3 separate regions of the Homo sapiens genome follow, and regions 1 and 3 are each linked to region 2. The links are contacts of gene promoters, found by promoter capture Hi-C in blood cells and fetal thymus (Javierre and others, 2016). All regions are on one chromosome and are shown on one strand. The core of a region is centred on a gene start or on the middle of the fragment in contact, and the rest is flanking DNA. Distances in the headings are between cores, read along the strand shown. Region 1 overlaps PDHX (pyruvate dehydrogenase complex component X). Region 2 holds the start of CD44-AS1 (CD44 antisense RNA 1). Region 3 overlaps PDHX (pyruvate dehydrogenase complex component X).

The links. Contacts are between HindIII fragments. The CHiCAGO score rates a contact against its expected background, and 5 or more counts as called.
Region 1: a fragment that was not itself captured here is called in contact with the fragment with the promoter of CD44-AS1 in region 2 in 1 of 17 cell types (activated CD4 T cells); the score reaches 5.6 in activated CD4 T cells.
Region 3: a contact is called between a fragment that was not itself captured here and the fragment with the promoter of CD44-AS1 in region 2, in 1 of 17 cell types (activated CD4 T cells). The highest score is 5.4, in activated CD4 T cells.

Annotation. Positions count from the first base shown.
Region 1 is chr11:34,962,540-34,965,377 of GRCh38, reverse strand. All of the region lies in intron 5 of PDHX (pyruvate dehydrogenase complex component X), which reads right to left. Among named protein-coding and RNA genes, the nearest start is that of MIR1343, 22 kb to the right of the region's middle. The HindIII fragment of the contact is 2,698 bases long and covers 187-2,838 here.
Region 2 is chr11:35,213,561-35,216,260 of GRCh38, reverse strand. CD44-AS1 (CD44 antisense RNA 1) reads left to right here and starts at 1,251. Exons shown (of 2, transcript NR_174965.1): 1 at 1,251-1,430. CD44 (CD44 molecule (IN blood group)) reads right to left here. Exons shown (of 18, transcript NM_000610.4): 15 at 1,347-1,409. RefSeq lists an enhancer at 822-2,021. The HindIII fragment of the contact is 2,794 bases long and covers 1-2,136 here.
Region 3 is chr11:34,982,662-34,985,361 of GRCh38, reverse strand. It overlaps PDHX (pyruvate dehydrogenase complex component X), which reads right to left. Exons shown (of 11, transcript NM_003477.3): 9 at 634-792. Among named protein-coding and RNA genes, the nearest start is that of MIR1343, 42 kb to the right of the region's middle. The HindIII fragment of the contact is 1,927 bases long and covers 373-2,299 here.

The DNA.
Region 1 (2,838 bases), core at 286-2,785, 250 kb after region 2:
GAAGCAAACATGCATGTTGTGAACCGCCTATGGAGACCACGCATGGCAAGGCCCTGCACGTGGCCTCTGGGAGCTGTCAGTGGTTCTTGGCTGAGAGCTAGAAAGAAAACAAGGGCCACAGTCCTACAGTCCCAAGGAACTGCATTCTGTCAACAACCACATGAGCTTGGAAGAGGACCCCAAGCTTCACATGAGTCCCCAGCCTTGGCCAACACTTTGATTTCAGCCTTGTGAGACCATGAGTTCAGAACCTGGCCATGCTATGCCAGGACTTCTAACCTATTGAACTGTTAGAAAACAAACAGGTATTATTTTAAGCTGGTAAGTTTACTGTAACTTGTTATGCAATAATAGAATATCAACACAAGCAGGAACAGTCTAACTGGGGTGCAAAAATCTGTATCGTTAATGCCCGAATACATCTATTTAAAAAAAAGGTTGCTGACACTAAATTGACACATTTTTAGCATAACTATTACTTATTAGCATATTTAGTAATATGTAATATTTAGTTATGCTAATAATATGCTAATAGCTAGCTAATATTAGTTATGCTAATAGCTAATATTAGTTATGCTAATAGCTAATATTAGTTATGCTAATATTACATATTTAGCATAACTATTACTGCTACTTTATTTTTTAAAAAGCAGTTTAGTTTTATCTCTGTAGTAATTAAGGTTCTTGGGTAGGTTAATCATAAAGAAGCAAGAACAAAATTGCTTCTTCTTGCTCACAAAAACTTGTATTGCTGATTTTATTTTTTTTTTATTTTTTAAAGAGTCTCACTCTGTCACCCAGGCTGGAGTGCAGTGGCGCGATCTCAGCTCACTGCAACCACCGCCTCCAGGGTTCAAGAGATTCTCATGCCTCAGCCTCTTTAGTAGCTGAGATTACAGGTGTGCATCACCACGCCTGGCTAATTTTTATATTTTTAGTAGAGATGGGGTTTTACCATGTTGGCCAGACTGGTCTCAAACTCCTGGCCTCAAGTGATTCGCCAGCCTTGGTCTCCCAAAGCACTGGGATTACAGGTGTGAGTCACTGCACCTGGTCTTTTTATTGCTGATTTTATACTTACATACCTATGAAGTATAAATCTTAATTATTGTTTAGTAACAGCCAATGATTTAGTTTTTTGTGAGGCAGAAAATGGTTTTAATGATTTCTGCACATTAAATAATCAGACTAAACTTGGAGCATTAGGTAGACATTAAAAGCTATAAAAATTAGGAGAAAAATATACCACACAAATTCATTCTGGCCACTGGCAGAAATAGGCAGATAGGCAGAGGATGCTCTGGAAGTTAACTCAGGTACAACCTTCTCTACTGGGTTCCCTGAGAGAGCAATTCATTTGGGTGTGACATGAATTCATTTTGAAAATACCACTAAAACACACTAGGCACTTGCCTGTCATACTTACCTAATTTTTGATGCTGTGTGATGAATACAAACATTACTACAACTATGATTTAGGACACAGATGTACCAAAGACATTGGGGCTGCAGGCAAAGAAACTAAATGTGTTCTGCTTCTAATTGTGGCCTCGACACTGCTTTCTTAAAACAGTCACATGTACAAGCAAAGTCAAGTCTATATTCTTTGGTACAACATGTATTCTGAGCAATGCTTGTTTTAAGGCAAAATTAAAATAGCAGCCCTGATACCCAAGATTTTCTTCACAAATACAGTGGGCTGGAGGCATTTCCTTCAGCATTTGGAACTGATTTTTCTACCCAGACTTTTAGTGGACATGGTATGGAGCATGTCCTCACCGTGTCAAGAACGTGTGTTGGCTGGGCACAGTGGCTCACGTCTGCATTCCCAGCACTTCGAGAGGCTGAGGTGGGAGGGTCACCTGAGGCCAAGAGCTTGAGACCAGCCTGGGCAACCTAGTGAGAAACCGTCTCTACAAAACTGTTTTAAAAATTTAGCCAGGCATGGTGGCACACCTGTAGTCCCAACTATTTGGGAGGTTGAGGTGATAGGACCACTTCAGCCTAGGAGTTCAAAGCTGCAGTGAGCTATGAATACACCACAGCACCCCAACCTGGGTGACAGAGTGAGAGCCTGTCTCTCTCTTAAAGAAAAAAAAATTCAAAACGTTAAAAAATAAAAAAGTGTGCTAAGATATTTTGGGGACAGCTATGCCAAAGCCTGCAATTTTTCAACCATAGCAGAAGACGACATTAGGCTAAAATTTTTTCCAAAGCTCACCTTAATGATAAACTTAAAATGCAGGCATTTTTAGCAGTATAGAAAAGCAAAAATCCTCAATAATATATGCTTTCAGGATCCATTTTTCTCATGAAATCTTTTGTACTAGTTCTTATTTTGAAGACCAAAGGCTGATGCCTTTCTCGTGGAGAGTTAAGGAATAAAGGCAGGGAAGAGAAAAGGGTAACAGGGTAGAAAAGATGGCAATAATACTAAAAGCCTAACTCTTTAATACTGCTTCCTTATGGTATTCAGGAGATAATACCATTTTGTTCTTAAGAAATGTTTCATTAATATTATAACTTTCAACTCAGGTTTAAAAAAAGATATTTGCGCATCATATATGTATTAAGCACACATGGAAAGAAAAGGAAGGAAGAAACCTTTATTTCTTTATTTTACTGCTGTCACACTACTGAACACCATATTACCAAATTTAAGAGGCTTTTCTTAGATCCTACCATCCTTGACTTTTCCCACATTTCCCAGGTATCCTCCAACTCAAGGATTTTAACCTCTAGTTTCCCTATTGATGATCTCAATTATAACTATTGCTTTATTATCTACCAAATCTACCTCTCTAATCCCCAACTATCTCCTGAGATACATCTTCATCT
Region 2 (2,700 bases), core at 2-2,501:
GTAAACCTACCTCATGTCAGACTTTTGCAGTCTGGGGTAAGGTTTGTAGGGGTGTGATCTGAATCACAACAAACAGGAGTCTATTTAAGAATTCATGCCTGGGAGTAATTATGGTCATTATGGAATGCCTTCTCCAGACTGTGCTATGAGAAGTAATACAAGGCCCTCCAGGCTTGAAAGGTGGCTCCATCACTCTCTGGTCCTGTCAACTCTGCCAAGTTACTTACCTTCTCTGAGCCTTAGTTTCCTCATCTGTAACATGGGGATAATAATAGTACTTACCTATGTCACAGAGTTTATAGGATGACTGAATGAGTTCATACTAGATAAACTCTATGAATTTGCTGATATTAACCTGTTTTTTTGTTTTTTGTTTTTTGGTTTTTTTTGAGACAGAGTCTTGCTCTGTCACCCAGGCTGGAGTGCAGTGGTGCAATCTTGGCTCACTGCAAACTCTGCCTGCCAGGTCCGAGCAATTCTCCTGCCTCAGCCTCCTGAGTAGCTGGGATTACAGGTGCGCAGGACCACGCCCGGCTAATTTTTGTATTTTTAGTAGAGACAGGGTTGGCCAGGCTGGTCTCGAACTCCTGACCTCGTGATCCACCTGCCTCGGCCTCCTAAAGTGCTGGGATTACAGGTGTGAGCCACCGTGCCTGGCCGATATTGACCTGTTCTTGACCTACAATAATGGCAGTTCCATTTGGCCCAACCTAATACATGTAAAGTGTTTAGAAAGATGCTGCTGGCACACAGTAAATTCCCAACAAATACCAGTGATGATATCATGTGCCAGGATTATGCTAAATGCTTTACATGTATTCTATCATTTAGTCTTTGAAACAATGTCCTGTGACAATTGTTATTATTCCAAGTTTATTAGTTGAGAAATGTTGTCTCAGACCCTTTAAAGCATCTTGCTCAGTTAATATGCGGAGGGCTGGAATCGAACTCAGGCCATTTTTGCTACAAAGCTCAAGCTCTTAATCACTCTGGTGTAGTGCAAGGTTAAATTGGGACACTGCTTGAATTCTTCCTGAGGCTTTCAGATGCAAGGCTTTCCTCCAGAGCAGTAGCTCTCAAAGTGCAATCCCTGTCCCAGCAGTGTCAGTATTACCAGGGAACTGATTAGAAATGCAAATGCTTGGGCTCCACCCCAGACCTACTGAATCAGGAACCTTAAGGGTGGGGTCCAGCATTGTGGTTTAATAAGCCCTCCCTGCAATTGTGATGTATGCTAAGAAGGTTTGAGAACCACTTCTCTGGAGACACTGACTCATACTTCGTTGGTAGTCATCATTAGGCTCAATGATTATAACAGTAAATGACTAAAGCAGTTTTGAACTCACCATCTGATTCAGATCCATGAGTGGTATGGGACCCCCCACTGGGGTGGAATGTGTCTTGGTCTCCTGTAATGAGCAATCAGGAAGGTCAGTACTGCATGTTTTCACTTACACTCCCATCTGCATTTCTTTACCTTTGCATTCTTATACAGCCTATCACAAAGTTTAGTCTTTTTAAGGTATTCCAAAAAATGATGGCAAAACAGCCTTGAATGGGTCCACAATGTTAATTACCGTTCATTGCTTAATCCACTGATAAATGAGCTAGAACTTTAATAAGAATTAAGGAAACTGGGGCAGCAAAGGCTAAGAAGGATGACCACAGGAAGTTTTGTAGAAACTTTGTTTTGGTAGAAATCCAAGAACTGTGGTAAGGAACATGCTAACAAAAATATTGTGATATCTTTGCAGGTATGAGGTTGAGACTAGACATTGTACATTTTAAATAAGGACAATATGAATTGGATTATGAGAAACATAATCACTGCAAATGGGCATACTCTGGCTTAGGGCATGAAACAGAGATTTCTTGGCGGCAGGAAATTAGTATGCAATAAGGAATCTTGGGATTGAATGATGTAAAGATTCAAAGAGAAAGGTCAACTACTTATTTTCAAAAAAAATTGAAAATAAGTAAAAAAGGAAATGGTGAGATGATAGCTAACATTAATAATGTGTATTGGAATATGGGTATTATAGTAAGTTTAAAATAATTTTTTAAAGTTAAATCTGTAGTTTCAACATGACTAGTTAATATAATCCTAGCTTCTCAAACATCTATCACCAGAAAGCTTTAGATTAAGACAACCTCATGAATTGCTAGAATCTAAATCCATAGGTCAAATCTTGAATGCAGCATATTAAAACTCTCTCCCCCACCCACATTTTTCAAAAGCATACTGGAATCTTTTTTTTTTTTTAATCACAGGACAATGCTTACATAAAATGGCTACAGTTATCCATTATGAAGGCACCTTATAAGGAATCTATAGTAACCTGATCGTCACCATTTCCTTGATTAGAGAAGGTGGAAGCGGGTGACACTTAGTCACCTGTGTAACTATATTGAAGAGACAGATTGCTTTGTTCCTTGGCTGATGGTTAAAACAAATGAAAACAACATTTGCTGAAATGCCACACCAATACTCCCACTACCAAAATCACCATGACCGTCACCATCCCATCACCATCATTATCACCATCACCATCACCATCACCACCACCACCACTGCCACTATGATTCTAAATGCTTCAGTTCTTTTTTGGGGGACGGAGCCTCGTTCTGTCGCCCAGGCTGGAGTGCAGTGGCACGATCTCGGCTCACTGCAACCTCCAATTCCTGGGTTCAAGTGATTTT
Region 3 (2,700 bases), core at 87-2,586, 230 kb after region 2:
TCAAGTGATTCTTGTTCCTCAGCCTCCCGAGTAGCTGGAATTACAGGCACGCGCCACCACACTCAGCTAATTTTCGTATTTTTAGTAGAGATGGGGTTACACCACGTTGGCCAGGTTGGTCTCAATCTCCTGACCTCGGGATCCACCCACCTCGGCCTCCCAAAGCGCTGGCATTACAGGCGTGAGACACCGCGCCTGGCCGCTAAGTTCTTTTAATGGTCTCAATTTTAGAGAAGAAGTAAATACACTTTAAGAATAAAATGTTATTAATATTGAGGTCCATAGAAATACAGTTTCAGCTTAACTTCAACTTTAAAACCTACCTGATATAGCATCTTTATGGCTGAATTCTGGACTTTGGAAAATAAAGCTTGTCTTTAGCATGAAGTTGTTCCCTAATTTGTTTATATATTATCTCTTAATTTTTGAATATTAAATTTTCTTACAATGGGTCATACTTGGATAAAAACTTTAAAAACCTATATATATGTGACAATCACTTGATGAAATAACTCTCCCCTTCACACACACAAAAATCACAGTCTGACTAGATTACGTCACAACTTTATCAGAAAGTAATTATCCAAAAGTATATGCTAACATTTTGAAAGCACACTCTTTCTTAAGACATACCTTTACAGAGTCAGCAATTTCCTGGATACCTTTAGCAGCAGCATCTTTTATGATTGGAGTAAGTAAGCCTTTATCTGTTGCCACAGCCACTGAAATGTCAATAAATGGCAGTTGCTTTGGGCCCTCTCCATCCCAGCTTACATTAACATCTGGCATTTGCTAGAAATAGAAAAAGAAAAATGTTACTAAAAAAGCAGCTTTAGACCAAGGCGGTTACAGAAAAATAAAATCATTGTGCATTTTCCAAAGTGAACATAGCTAGATAAGAGAAAATAAATAAAAATTTCGTTTGAAAAAATGGTATGGAGTTCTGTGTCAATTATCTTTTATGTTTGCCAAGAATAATTAAACATACCACCTTTTTGAAGCAAGTTTGAAGAAATTCTGATGAGGTACATGTTTTGATCCTTTATATCATGGTGGGGAAAAAGGGCTTTCTTTCCTGATTGCAAGAAGTTATTTAATGTCTGTTGTACTTCCTACCTCATATGATAACGAACATGATCTTGAGGGGAGGAGGAGAGTGGAAACAGGTAATAATATTAGATCACATTATTCCTTACTTTCTAGCCCAGCTCTGGGATATATATCAGCAGGCCCTCAATACATGACATCCCTATTTAAAAGAGATATCTGTTCCATTGGTCTATATCTCTGTTTTGGTACCAGTACCATGCTGTTTTGGTTACTGTAGCCTTGTACTATAGTTTGAAGTCAGGTAGCGTGATGCCTCCAGCTTTGTTCTTTTGGCTTAGGATTGACTTGGCAATGCGGGTTCTTTTTTGGTTCCATATGAACTTTAAAATAGTTTTTTCCAATTCTTTGAAGAAACTCATTGGTAGCTTGATGGGGATGGCATTGAATCTATAAATTACCTTGGGCAGTATAGCCATTTTCACAATATCGATTCTTCCTACCCATGACCATGGAATGTTCTTCCATTTGTTTGTATTCTCTTTTATTTCATCGAGCAGTGGTTTGTAGTTCTCCTTGAAGAAGTCCTTCACCTCCCTTGTAAGTTGGATTCCTAGGTATTTTATTCTCTTTGAAGCAATTGTGAATGGGAGTTCACTCATGATTTGGCTCTCTGTTTGTCTGTTATTGGTGTATAAGAATGATTGTGATTTTTGCACATTGATTGTGTATTCTGAGACTTTGCTGAAGTTGCCTATCAGCTTAAGGAGATTTTGGGCTGAGACAATGGGGTTTTCTAGATATACAATCATGTCATCTGCAAACAGGGACAATTTGACTTCTTCTTTTCCTAATTGAATACCCTTTATTTCTTTCTCCTGCCTGATTGCCCTCGCCAGAACTTCCAACACTATGTTGAATAGGAGTGGTGAGAGAGAGCATCTCTGCCTTGTGCCAGTTTTCAAAGGCAATGCTTCCAGTTTTTGCCTATTCAGTATGATATCAGCTGTGGGTTTGTCAAAAATAGGTCTTATTATTTTGAGATACGTCCCATCAATACCTAATTTATTGAGAGTTTTTAGCATGAAGTGTTGTTGAATTTTGTCAAAGGCCTTTTCTGCATCTACTGAGATAACCATGTGGTTTTTGTCTTTGGTTCTGTTTACATGCGGGATTAAGTTTATTGATTTTCGTATGTTGAACCACCCTTGCATCCCAGGGATGAAGCCAACTTCGTCGTGGTGGATAAGCTTTTTGATGTGCTGCTGGATTTGGTTTGCCAGTATGTTATTGAGGATGTTTGCATCGATGTTCATCAGGGATATTGGTCTAAAATTCTCTTTTTTTGTTGTGTCTCTGCCCGGCTTTGGTATCAGGATGATGCTGGCCTCATAAAATGAGTTAGGGAGGATTCCCTCTTTTTCTATTGATTGGAATAGTTTCAGAAGGAATGGTAACAGCTCCTCCTTGTACCTCTGGTAGAATTCGGCTGTGAATCCATCTGGTCCTGGACTTTTTTTAGTTGGTAAGCTATTAATTATTGCCTCAATTTCAGAGCCTGTTATTGGTTTATTCAGAGATTCAAGTTCTTCCTGGTTTAGTCTTGGGAGGGTGTATGTGTCGAGGAATTTATCCATTTCTTCTAGATTTTCT